Regions from separate parts of the Homo sapiens genome. Here region 1 is linked to region 2. Evidence: promoter capture Hi-C in 16 types of primary human blood cells and fetal thymus (Javierre and others, 2016). All regions are on one chromosome and are shown on one strand. Each heading gives the region's core, a stretch centred on a gene start or on the middle of the fragment in contact. The rest is flanking DNA. Distances are from core to core; before and after follow the strand shown. Region 1 overlaps ERRFI1 (ERBB receptor feedback inhibitor 1). Region 2 holds the start of RERE (arginine-glutamic acid dipeptide repeats).

The links. Contacts are between HindIII fragments. The CHiCAGO score rates a contact against its expected background, and 5 or more counts as called.
Region 1: a fragment that was not itself captured here is called in contact with the fragment with the promoter of RERE in region 2 in 1 of 17 cell types (naive B cells); the score reaches 6.7 in naive B cells.

Annotation. Positions count from the first base shown.
Region 1 is chr1:8,005,578-8,012,155 of GRCh38, reverse strand. It overlaps ERRFI1 (ERBB receptor feedback inhibitor 1), which reads left to right. Exons shown (of 4, transcript NM_018948.4): 4 at 1-429. LOC124903834 (a long non-coding RNA gene) reads right to left here. Exons shown (of 2, transcript XR_007065451.1): 2 at 5,423-6,578. Among named protein-coding and RNA genes, the nearest start is that of ERRFI1, 17 kb to the left of the region's middle. RefSeq lists a silencer at 2,233-2,527. The HindIII fragment of the contact is 5,423 bases long and covers 265-5,687 here.
Region 2 is chr1:8,815,093-8,821,488 of GRCh38, reverse strand. It overlaps RERE (arginine-glutamic acid dipeptide repeats), which reads left to right and starts at 3,849. Exons shown (of 23, transcript NM_001042681.2): 1 at 3,849-4,329. RefSeq lists silencers at 3,312-3,541, 3,642-3,941, 4,192-4,251 and an enhancer at 3,605-3,899. The HindIII fragment of the contact is 6,239 bases long and covers 1,316-6,396 here.

The DNA.
Region 1 (6,578 bases), core at 1,727-4,226, 810 kb after region 2:
AGCTCAGTATGTCTGAATTCCAGAGGTCACATCAGCATCTTTCTGCTTTGAAAACTCTCACAGCTGTGGCTGCTTCACTTAGATGCAGTGAGACACATAGTTGGTGTTCCGATTTTCACATCCTTCCATGTATTTATCTTGAAGAGATAAGCACAGAAGAGAAGGTGCTCACTAACAGAGGTACATTACTGCAATGTTCTCTTAACAGTTAAACAAGCTGTTTACAGTTTAAACTGCTGAATATTATTTGAGCTATTTAAAGCTTATTATATTTTAGTATGAACTAAATGAAGGTTAAAACATGCTTAAGAAAAATGCACTGATTTCTGCATTATGTGTACAGTATTGGACAAAGGATTTTATTCATTTTGTTGCATTATTTTGAATATTGTCTTTTCATTTTAATAAAGTTATAATACTTATTTATGATACCATTAGTAATGTTTCTTGCCTAAAGTCTTATAAAGTGTATGAAGCAATTTGACAGCATTATTTTTAAGCACAAGCGAAGATTCTTTGAAGTTTAATGTATTCTTGAAACTCTTATTCTTTAGAATGAAACATAATTTGTGCAATCTTTTTCACATATTATGAAAGTATACAGTGGAAATGAGCTGTTTGTTTTTACCTTTAACAACTGAAAGAGAACTGGATTCTGGGGTTACTATCAGAAACAACGTTGGGGGTGGGAGTCCACATCAAGGAGAACGTGACAGAAGAAACCAGTTCTGATGTGTAGACTTGGTTTGACTCATTCTGATTTTTAGGACGAGGTCCCGGTTACTCTGGGCCCTTTGGCAGGCTTTGCTTCTTGCTTAAGGCCACCCAAGGAATCTGCACCTGCCTTGGCCTGTCATGGAGATGGCAAGTCCACAGTGGACAAATGGGCTCCTGGCAGCCTTTGGATGGAGGCAGGGGCTGGAGTGCTCTTTGTGAGGGGGCTTAGTCCCATGTCACCTAGCCCTGTGCCTGGTTCTCTTCACTGTCCTCTGCAGGCTCCTTTGTCCCCTGGGAGAGGGTGGGAGCCCTCCACGACCTTCATCGGGCACCTGCACTGTCTTGCCACTCTCCAGAGTGAAGAGTGAGGGCTCAAATTATCTGGGTTGAAGTTGCAACTTCATCCCTTTCTAATTCTGTGTGAGGCAGATTATTTTAAATCCCTGTAGCTCAGTTTTCTCATTGGTAAAATGGGCAGAGAGGTGGGAATTATTTTGTGACAACTGCATATAAACTATATTATCTGGTACATAGTGAGGGCCCCATACATGAGAACTGTTTTTGTCATCTAAAGGCTGGGTGTCATTTATGGCATTTTACAGATGAAGATGCAGGCTTGGGACGTTCAGTCAACAGACATTTGTTAAATCCCAGCCCCATGCTGGATCCTGCGAAAACACATCCCCTTCCCTTATGGAATTTAAAGCAGATAATGTTAATTATGATTACATCTTATATTAAGTGCTAAATAAAAAGGTAATGAACAATGGGAGCAATGAGGACTGATAATGGGACCTGTGAGGTGTTAAGCTCTGAAGGGTTAGAATGGAAGCTGAGGGAGGGGAGTGAACAGGTAGGCATGTTACCAGTGGAGGAAGCAGACAATGTGTGAGACCCTGAAGTAGGAAACAGCTGAGCAGCTTCCAGAAAGTGGCTGTCAGGAGGAGGAGGGGCCTGGAAAAGTGTAGTGGGTGCCACTGAAAGATCCTAAGCAGGAGAGGAAGGTGATGTGATTTAAGAGGACAGTGGCTGTTGTGTGGAGGACAGATCGGAGAGAAGCAAAAGGAAACGGGAAGACTTAATGGACAGAGGCTACTGTAGTCCTGAACTGAGACAAGACTGCCTTGGCCAGTGGAGATGGAGAAAAACAGTAAAAGATACCTGGGAGTAGTAGAAACAGTTAAGTTCCAGATCACGCAGGCCCGTGTGCGCGGCACCCTGGCCAAAGAGGGACAGCTCCCCAAGCGCAGGGACTCAGCTTCCTGTGCACTGTCATGACGCACTGCCTGACCCAGGGGTGCAGTAAGTCCCTGCTGACTGGATGTCTGAATGCAGCACTTGCAGAACTTTGTCTGCTTCTGAGACTTTTTGCCTCTCCCCTCCCCTCCACTACCTTTTCTTGGTCATATGGTCAAGAATATGTTTCATTAGTTCTGTTTGCTTTCCATCTTACCTTTGTATTTTTACTTGTGTTTGCAAGCATATACCTTTTCCCTGATTTTTCCTGGCTAAGCAAATGTGCCTAGCCGCCATGCCAATGCCACACTACCACCGGAACACATCCCCTAGCACCTTCTGCCTGTCAACTTATTCCTCAACCAGCACACAAAGCAAGTTAATTCTAAAGAGTTCTCGTGGCATAGGTCAAGCCCGGGACTTCTGACACTCTTCTCTGTTGCTAAGTAAGATGCCAATAGGAAATCAGCTGCGTGTTAGCTGCCACTTTATGCACTGTTGAGTTCTCAAAGATGGTTATGTCACACAACAAAGTACTGGCCTAAAACCCAGGTTCCTGTCTTGACTTCTCCCTTTTTTTTTTTAGACACAGAGTCTTCTTGCTCTTGTCACCCCAGGCTCCAGGCTAGAGTGCAGTAGCACCAATCTTGGCTCACCGCAACCTCCGTCTCCCGGGTTCAAGCGATTCTCCCTGCCTCAGCCTCTCAAGTAGCTGGGATTATAGGCAGGCGCCACCACGCCTGGCTAATTTTGCATTTTTTTAGTAGAGATAGGGTTTCTCCATGTTGGTCAGGCTGGTCTTGAACTCCCAATCTCAGGTGATCCGCCTGCCTCGGCCTCCCAAGGTGCTGGGATTACAGGTGTGAGCCACCACGCCTGGCTGACCTCCCACTTTCTATAGGAAGGATTCACTTCACTTCCCTGAGCTTTAAGTTCCTTGTCAGTATATGTGAGGCCATGCCAGAGCGCACTGTAGTGCTATGCACACCTAAGGGACTGGTTAGTAGATACCATTTCGTGGCAGCAAACAGAAGCCGAGGATAAGGGGGCTCTCTTACAAGTGAATTCAAAATTTGGGTTAATAGTAAATGTCAGTTTTTTGTTTTTTTGTTTTGAGGCAAAGTCTTCGTCACCCAGGCTGGAGTGCAGTGGCACCATCTGGGCTCACTGCAACCTCTGCCTCCAGGGTTCTAGCGATTCTCCTGCCTCAGCCTTCCGATCAACTGGGATTACAGGCACCTGCCACCACGCCCGGCTAATTTTTGTATTTTTAGTACAGACGGGGTTTCACCATGTTGGCCAGGCTGGTCTCGAACTCCTAACCTTAGGTGATCCACCCACCTCAGCCTCCCAGAGTGCTGGGATTATAGGCGTGGGCCACTGCGCCCAGCCAATTTTGTCAGTTCTTATGCTGCAACAGTCAAGTATGTGATGTGTATCCTCTTGTTTTTAATAAATTCCAAAAACACACTAATGGAAGTTTAATACTGTTTGTTGCTTATCCATCTCTAGGTCTCAAGAGATGTCTTAACTATGCTGTGAAAAGTAAGAACTCTCTTTAAGAGGATGTTTCTTGGCTGGGTGCGGTGGCTCACGCCTGTAATCCCAGCACTTTGGTAGGCCAGGGCGGGTGGATCACCTAAGGTCAGGAGTTCAAGACCAGCCTGACCAACATGGTGAAACCCCATCTCTACTAAATACAAAAAAATTAGCTGGGCGTGGTGGCTCATGCCTGTAATCCCAGCCACTTGGGAGGCTGAGGCAGGAGAATCACTAAAACCCGGGAGGCGGAGATTTGCAGTGAGCTGAGATTAAGCCACTGCACTCCAGCCTGGACAACAACAGTGAAACTCCGTCTCAAAAAAAAAGAGGATGCTTCTTCACTATTAGGGACCCTAAAAAATAAAATAAAAGGCCATAGAGTTTCATCTTCCAGAGCAATTCACAGTTGACTAGAGAAAAGCCATATTCATATATCTACTGGTTCAAGAATCAACATGTATTTTAAGCTAGTCTCTATTTTGGTTCTTAATTTCATCACATAATTAATAGTTTTAGGATATACTGGAGCTTTTCTCTTAAAAATAAGTAAAGCTCCTAGCACAGTTTTGTATTTCTTATATAGTTTTTTTTTAACTTTTCATCTTGATGTAATTATACACTCAAAAGAAGTTGCAAAATAGATCCCCTATGCCCATTACCCAGATTCCCCCAGTGATGACATAGAATTTATCAAAATCAGGAAACTGACATTGGCACAATACTCATGTAGGATTTTATCTGGAAGTAGTTACTATCAAAATGAACTTAGGTGCTACTTTTTCAAATTAATTTAGAAATTAATTTTGGCCTTCTGGCATTTTGTAAAAAGCTAATAAAACTCTAAAAATATGTTGTCAGGCTGGGCATGGTGGCTCACGCCTGTAATCCCAGCACTTTGGGAGGCCGAGGCGGGCGGATCACCTGAGGTTGGGAGCTTGAGACCAGCCTGGCCAATGTGGAGAAACCCCATCTCTACTAAAAATACAAAATTAGCTGGGTGTGGTGGCACGAGCCTATTAATCCCAGCTACTTGGGAGGCTGAGGCAGGAGAATCACTTAGCCTGGGAGGCGGAGGTTGCGGTGAGCTGAGATCGCACCATTGCACTCCAGCCTGGGCAACAAGAGCAAAACTCTGTCTCAAAAAATAAAAAAATAAAAAAAAATATATATATATATATAGAGAGAGAGAGAGAGAGAGAGAGAGAGAGAGAGAGAGAGTCATGTAAATAATGCATTATGGCCATTGTCATTGAAAAGATAAAATTAAGGCATGTTAACTTTGATCTGCCATGGTTTCCTGCAAGGTTAATTTGCATTTGCTCTAATAAAAACAGTCCTTTACACTTTTAAGAATTCATGGCCGGGCACGGTGGCTCACGTCTGTAATCCCAGCACTTTGGGAGGCTGAGGCGGGCAGATCACGAGGTCAGGAGTTCGAGACCAGCCTGGCCAGCATAGTGAAACCCCCATCTCTACTAAAAATACAAAAATTAGCCAGGCATGGTGGCGTGTGCCTGTAGTCCCAGCTACTCGGGAGGCTGAGGAGGGAGAACTGCTTGAACCCAGGAGGTGGAGGTTGCACTGAGCCGAGATCACACCACTGCACTACAGCCTGGGCGACAGAGCCAGACTCTGTCTCAAAAAAAAAAAAAAAACACACACACAAAAAAACATGAATTGTTTTTCTCTTAAGGGCCTCAAATATCTACAGCCTTGAGGTTCCATATTTTCAAATTGGAAGTGCGTGACAAGCCAGGAGGCATAGTGTGAATTTCTAACTTAGTACTAGAGTTTCGAGGTATTCTTATCCTTAGGAAAATAAGTTTTGTTCAAACTAAAATACAGTCAAGGACTTGTTTTCTTTAGACTAGATCAATTGACAAACAACCTGGCCCTTTTCCTCTCGGCATGTGAATCATACAACTTGTTAAAGAGGAGTATTGGGTTTTATTCGGAGAAAGGAGGAGAGGAGAGTAGAATTGGGTAGAAGGTTCAATTTGTCTGAACTTGGTTGGCCTCACCCTTCACTGCTTGTTAACTACATGAAATCATGATTTAGCCATGTCTAATGTAATTTGATTGCTGGGAGGATGCAAATTTTCATGTTTGCTTTTCACCTGAATGTATCAAATTTCACTATGCTTTAACCTCAGCCACTAAGAAGCTATTACTAGAGCGTGTTTAAACAAGCTTACTTCTGCCGTCATGTTATCTGTCCAGAATTCAGAGTGGCAAACCATACTTGGTGTGTATGTTTTTCTGCACCTGAGGAAATCATTTACATTAAGGCAGCTCTGTGATAGTCAGTGTTCCTCAGCGTCCCCGCCACATGGCAGCAGGTGGGGTTTTGGTGTGGGGAGGGGGCTCGGGAATGGAAAGAAAGGACTCCTTTCCAGGTACTAGTTTGCACTTGTCTTAGAGAGAGAGCTGTGGGGGCTGGGCATGGTGGCTCATGCCTGTAATCCCTGCACTTTGGGAAGCCAAGGTGGGCAGATTACTTGAGGTTAGGAGTTCGAGACCAGCCTGACCAACATGGTGAAATCCCGTCTACTAAAAATACAAAAATTAGCCGAGCATGGTAGTGCATGCCTGTAATCCCAGCTACTCAGGAGGCTGAGGCAGGAGAATGGCTTGAACCTGGGAGGCGAAGTTTGCAGTGAGCGGAGATCGCACTACTGCATTCTAGCCTGGGCAGCAGAGCAAGACTCCGTCTCAAAAAAAAAAGAAAAAGAAAAAGAAGGCCAGGCACGGTGGCTTACGCCTGTAATCCCAGCACTTTGGGAGGCTGAGGCGGGTGGATCTTGAGACCAGCCTGGCCAAGATGGTGAAACCCCGTCTCTACTAAAAATACAAAAATCAGCCGGGCGCAGTGGTGGGCGCCTGTAATCCCACCTACTCGGAGGCTGAGGCAGTTGAACTCGTGAGGCGGAGTTCGCAGTGAACCAAGATCGCGCCACTGCACTCTAGCCTGGGCCACAGAACAAGACTCCATCTCAAAAAAAAAAAAAGAAAAGGAAGGAAGGGAGGAAGGAAAGGAAGGAAGGAAGCTGTGATCTCAGGCTATCAGTTTAGCGTGCCTCTCT
Region 2 (6,396 bases), core at 2,600-5,099:
TAAAAAATGAAATCAAAAGTATTAGAAGAACACTAAAACTTTTTCAAATCATGGATTGAAGAAGCTCTTTCTAACATGGCAGGAAATCCAGACGCCATAAAGGAAAAAACACCAATAAATTTTACTGCATAAATATTTCACATCCCTATAAGGCATAAAAACACCATAGCAATGCAAGAAACAGGCAGACTGGGGAGAAACATTTTCAACACGTATAAGCAAGGGCTAACTTCCTTTTTTTTTTTCCTTTGAGACAGGGTCTCACTCTTGTCACCAGGTTGGAATGCAGTGGCATGATCACAGCTCACTGCAGCCTCAACCTCCCAGGCTGAAGCCATCCTCCCACCTCAGCTTCCCAAATAGCCTGGACTACAGGCATGTGCCATCACACTCAGCTAATTTTTAAAATTTTTTTGTAGAGATGGGGGTCTCATTATGTTGCTCAGAGTAGTCTCAAATTCCTGGGCTCCAAAAAAAAAAAATTTCAATTAAAAAAATAAAGAAATCCACCTGTGATTTTGGGGGTGGGGTGTGTTAGGAGTAATATGAATCTAGTGGGTGTGTGTTGTTGTTTTTTGTTTCCCCATATAGCTATCTTGTTGTCCCAATATCATTTATTAAATAATCCCCATTTTCCATCTTCCTTTAATACAGCTCTGATGTGATCTCTGTATATTTAAAAAAAAATCACTTCTTACCTGTAGTAAGATACATAAAATAACTAAAAAAAGTCCTTGATATTTTCAGATTCAATAACTACTTTATTTACTTAATTCCCACTTAAAAATATTGCTGAAAAGAGAATAAGGAAACTTTTAAAAATTTAATATGGGAAAAAAATCCAAGTCGGTATTTTACGTCTTTAATCTTCAGCTAGTTCTTTAACTTCCGTAAGCCCCAGTTCCTTGACTTTTAAAATGGAGATAATAAGCCGGGAGCAGTGGCTCACGCCTGTAATCCCAGCATTTTGGGAGGCTGAGGCGGGCGGATCATCTGAGGTTGGGAGTTCGAGACCAGCCTGACCAACATGGAAAAACCCTGTCTCTACTAAAAATACAAAATTAGCTGGGCATGGTGGCACATGCCTGTAATCCCAGCTGCTCAGGAGGCTGAGGCAGGAAAATCGCTTAAACCCGGGGGTCAGAGGTTGCGGTGATCTGAGATCGCGCCATTGCACTCCAGCCTGGGCAACAAGATCGAAACTGTCTCAAAAAAAAAAAAAAAAAAAAAAAGAGATAATAATAATACACTTCATGGGGAGAAAAAGTGGGCTAAAGAATGTAACATGTTTCTTAGGGCACTGGGAACATAAGCTTTCAATCAATAGTTTAATAGTTGTTCTTAACGATGAAGATTATTTTACTGCATTATCAGCTTCTCAGATCCTTGGAAGGAGGTCCAGTACTCTCCGGCTTTATGGCTGGACCACAATTCTTTCGTGGGACTGTTACAGTTAAATGGGTTTAGTTTGCTAATTTTGTGGTCTGATACCATATATTATGCTTTGTAACTATGTGGCATTTCTGGACTTCTAAATTTACATTTTTATGGATAAATGAAAGTGACGGCCAATCCCTAATACCATAGTAAATGTTATTTCCTAACGTGGAGAGCCTCTCTCCTCCCTGCTGGATGGCAGTGCATTGTCCATTTGTCTACCACAGAGCTGAATCTTTATTAGAAATAATGCTCCTGTAAGTTTCGAGACCAGCCTGGGCAACATAGTGAACCTCCATCTCTACTAAAATTACAAAAGTTAGTTGGGTGTGGCGGCACACACCTGTAATTTCAGCTACTCAGGAGGCTGAGGCAGGAGAATCGCTTCAACCGAGGAGGTGGAGGTTGCAGTGAGCTGAGATCGTGCCACTGCACTCCAGCCTGGGCAACAGAGCGAGACTCTGTCTCAAAAAAAAAAAAAAGAAAAAAAAGAAAGAATGCTCCTGTAGATAGAGATTTTGATGGAAAGTGAAGCCATCTAACTGATATACTTTATCCCTCATCATTTCCAAACAGGAAGTCAGATAGTCCTATCCATATCTAGAATGTTGGAAGCAGTTTATTGAATTTATTAGGTTTTAAAATTCAGTTCTCACATTATCAGATATATAAAGAGATATTAACTAGTTTCCCCATTTCATAACTCCAGCAAAGAGGATTTTTCTTGCTGAAAGTTACTCAGAAATGTGATGGCAAGGATCTATGGCTTTTTTTTTTTTTTTTAAGATCTCTTGGGTCATGGTCCAATAGTATCTGTTAGTCCAAATTATTCTTTAAAGAATAATTGAATGTGGGCCGGGTGCGGTGGCTCACGCCTGTAATTCCAGCACTTTGGGAGGCTGAGGCGGGCGGATCACCTGAGGTCAGGAGTTCGAGACCAGCCTGACCAACATGGAGAAACCCCATCTCTACTAAAAATACAAAATTAGCTGGGTGTGGTGGCGCATGCCTGTAATCTCAGCTACTCGGGAAGCTGAGGCAGGAGAATCGCTTGAACTGAGGAGGCGGAGGTGGCGGTGAGCCGAGATCGCGCCATTGCACTCCAGCCTGGGCAACAAGAGTGAAACTCCCTCTCAGAAAAAAAAAAAAAATGAATAATTCAATGTGGAAATTATAATCTGAATAGATTTTCCAAGGAGAAAATTATCACTTCTTTTGAAACAGATGAGTGAATTATTTTGTGCTACGTTTTCTACCCCTTATTTTATACGGACCTTAACTCCTTCGGGAAGAGTGTATGGTATAAGGACACCAATAAGCATTTACAGAATATTAACAAACCAACAATAGGTTGATGATTCACCCTGGATTCGTGCCAGGCTCTGTGAAAGAACTCAATAAACATGATGTGCATTTCAAAAACTGCTAATCATAATTGAAATTTCCAAACCCCTCAATCCCATAAATTATATGAACTAGAATATGATCATTTGGCCTGCCCCTACTCCCTTTACAGCATGATAGACCCTGTGATTATCAGGCTTTCGGGAAGTGGGACACAATACTTCATTCTTCAAAGAAAAAGAGGTGATGTTTGGTCTTTTCCTCTTTTTAGATTTTTTTTCACACGTACCTTATAGAGTTGTACACTGCTCTTTCTAAAATCCCTTCTGTACCTGTACAGTCTCTCCTTTATGCCTTCATGACACTTTTTATTCTTTTCAAATAAGCAGTGCGACTTATCACTTTTATTTTTCTTTCTGTAATTCATCTTTTGTCATGTACACTATTTGAAAAATATTACAAGCCGCTCATCAGAATTTCGAAAGAGTCCATATGAGAATGGTTTACACCCACTCTGTAGCCCGCAGCAACATGGATCCGCGTCCTAATGACTGAAAAGGCCAATTAAGACCCGGGTAACAGCAAGATCAACCGGACTTCCCCCCACCCCACCCGGGACCTGCCCGCGCCGCCAGCCCGGCCCAGCCCGGGGGGCGCGGGGGGCGGTACTGGAGCGCGGCGGGCGGCGGAGGAGGGCCGGCCTCGCACTCTCACAAAGACGCGCCCGCGGCGGGAGCCCAGCCCACCGCCTCTGGCCGCCGCCTGCAGCGCGAGCCCTCGAGCCCCGGGCCGCGGCGTTGTCAAGGCTCGGCCTCTCTCCGCCTTCTTCTCTGCTCATTTTATTAAAAAGATTAAAAAAAAAAAAAAAAAAAAAAAAAAAAGGAAAAAGAGATCCCGCCTCCTCCGCCTCCCATTGGCCGGGCCCCCGGCCGCGTCACACCGCGCTGTACCAATGGAGGGGCGCGATACTGCGAGGTGGGCCGGGCCCGAGCGGGGAGTGGGCGGCGGGTCGGTGCAGCAGCTCCGCCGCGGCTCCGCCACCATCGCGGAGGTGCCGCTGTTCCCACAGACGCTCGCGAGCAACCCTCCGCGCTCCGGAGCCTCCTCAGCCTCCCGCACACCCCGAGACGCTCGCCCCGCTGGGCCTCGGTCCCCGCCTCCTCCCCCGTCCTTTTCCCCTCTCTCGCTCCCCACATTGTCTCTGCCTCATTTTCTCTCCTAGTTGAGGATTAAAAAAAAAAAAAAATCACCATCATCCTCAGGGAGCCCCCTCGCCCTCGGAAAACAAAACCAGACATGATCCTGGGCTCCTGCTTCTGAAAGATCTGCCCGACCGAGGAGGAGGGAGCCTAGGTTCAAGTCGCAGGAAAGGTCACGGCAGGGAAGCCCCCTCAGCCCCTCCGCGTCGCCTCCCCGCGGGCCGCCCCTCTCGGCCCTGCGCCCCGCGGCCCCGCAGCCTCCGCGCGGCCTCCCGCCCCATCCCCGCCACTTTCCCCGGAGCTGGGCCGCGAACACCTCACTATTGATGGTGTAGCGCTTTAGGGGAAGGTAAGTGTCCAACTTGCCCGCGCCGGGTCGTGTGCTTTCTTTTTTGGCCCCTCGTCCTGGTGGTCAGAGAGGGTCGGCCGTGAAAGCAGTCACTCGCCCGGGGGGAGGCAGGAAGAAAAGGCTGGGGTCGAAGCCGAAGTCGAGGGGAGTCGGGCGAGGGCAGGGCACTTCTTTGGTCCTGTCCGGGCCAGGTGACCGTTCCTGCGTGCCTTCTGACCCCTGCTCTCTCTTGGCCTCTTATTCATGCTCTTGTTCTACTTGTTTGAGGTTAAACTATTTCATGTGACTACATTATTGGCTGAAACTGGAAGGGAAGGAAGTCAAGGACTGAAACTGTAAATTTCTTGAATGTTTGTGGATTTCGGGGTGCTGGGGGGAGGACTTTATTATTAAAGTATCATTTTCTCATTGGGGGAAGATTTCCTCTTTGTGCTCCCAATCTCTAGTTCTCAGCTGTATGTGATTAGAAAATTATGAAACCCAAAGTCACTTGCAGCAGAATAGAATTCTTACTATCCTGTTTTAGTTCTGCTCTCTGAAGGAGGGTGGCTTCTATTTATTACTAATTTTTAAGATGATGGAAAGATTCGTAGTTTTACATACACGTGTGTATGTGTGTCTGCTAGGAGGGGGGAAAAGTGTTGCAGGCTTCCTTTGAAACTGGTTGCTTGAGAAGTTGTTGAAAGGAAAACAGAATGATTCATTGTTGAATTGTCATTTTCCTCTGTCTCTTTTCCAAGGTTTGCTTACAATTTTTCTGGATTACAGACTTCAAACATTGATTTAAGTAAAATGGGTCCTTGAGAAACTGGGTGCTTTAAATGTTTCAGTATCTGTTGCTTTTTTAAGGTACATTTAGAAAGTAGTTTTGTATGAATCGTGAAATAGCCTTCTTCACAGCGAATTTTTAAACGCAAAAAAAGATAACTAGTAAGAGGGTGAACTTGGTGAATTACAAAATAGACATTTTAATATAGCAGGAATTGATGCATCTAAGATTTGAAACAGTTTTCATAATTGCTTTCCATTTAAAGAGAGACCTTTTTGTCTAGTGTACACTGGTCTTTTTAGTCTCAGTCTGTTGGGGGAGGGGAGAGAAGCTGGATCTGTACAATAATAAAATCATCTTTGGGTTGATATTTTGTTCCATGGATTTGCTTGCTGAGTTAATACTACTGTAAATTATCAACCAGTTTTGATTTTGATGGCCTGGGATGGGTGGAAAGCTGGCTTCCAGCTCTCCCTGTTGTTGTTGAGGTCGAAGGGAAAAGAGGCAGAGGCAGACAGACACACATATACACACACACACACACACATACACACACACACAATACCAAGCTGAGGGCTCATTGTTCTTCCATACACACATTCATTCTCTCTCTCCCATATTTGGGACTAGGTTTGCACAGACAAACACAGCTCTTTTTGGGAGAGAAGAGAGAAGATGGGGGAAGGGAGGGTGCTTTTCTGTTACAGCTTTCTTCCACCCATCTCATGCCTGGCCGTTTTTGCAACCTTGTGAGGCAGAAGAGTGCATTGGAAACTAAAGGACACTCAAAAACATGTTCAGAGACTTCTCTTCTCTCTGCCTCCCTTTATTCCTTTTGCAGCCGTGGTTTCTGCTGCTCTTTCTTTTTTGTATATGTAAAGATAAAATCCCTCTTTATATGTTGTGGCCTTACGTTCAGCTCTCATTGCTTTTGTATTTCTCATTGACCCTGATTTTGTTGGGGACAGTGATTTGTTCACTTGAGTCTTAGTAGTGAATGTGAGCAGAGTCTTTCTAGATAGAAATAGATTTTATTGATTAATATTATAAAGGTTGTATTGAGGTTAATATTTAGCAAGATGATGTTTGCATGTTTTTAGTGGTGTGATGGTTTGATGGTCAGGTTTGCTGGCAATTGAGCTGTCAATGTTGTTTTTGTAAATAAGGGTTATAAGAAAAGATCTGGTTTTCTGTTTAGGGGGCTCCTTTGAATACTGGACAGGGAATAGGCTAGTCCACCTGGGATAAACCCAGCTGTGGCCCAAGGATGGAGGTTGGTGTGAATACATGTGGGTTGC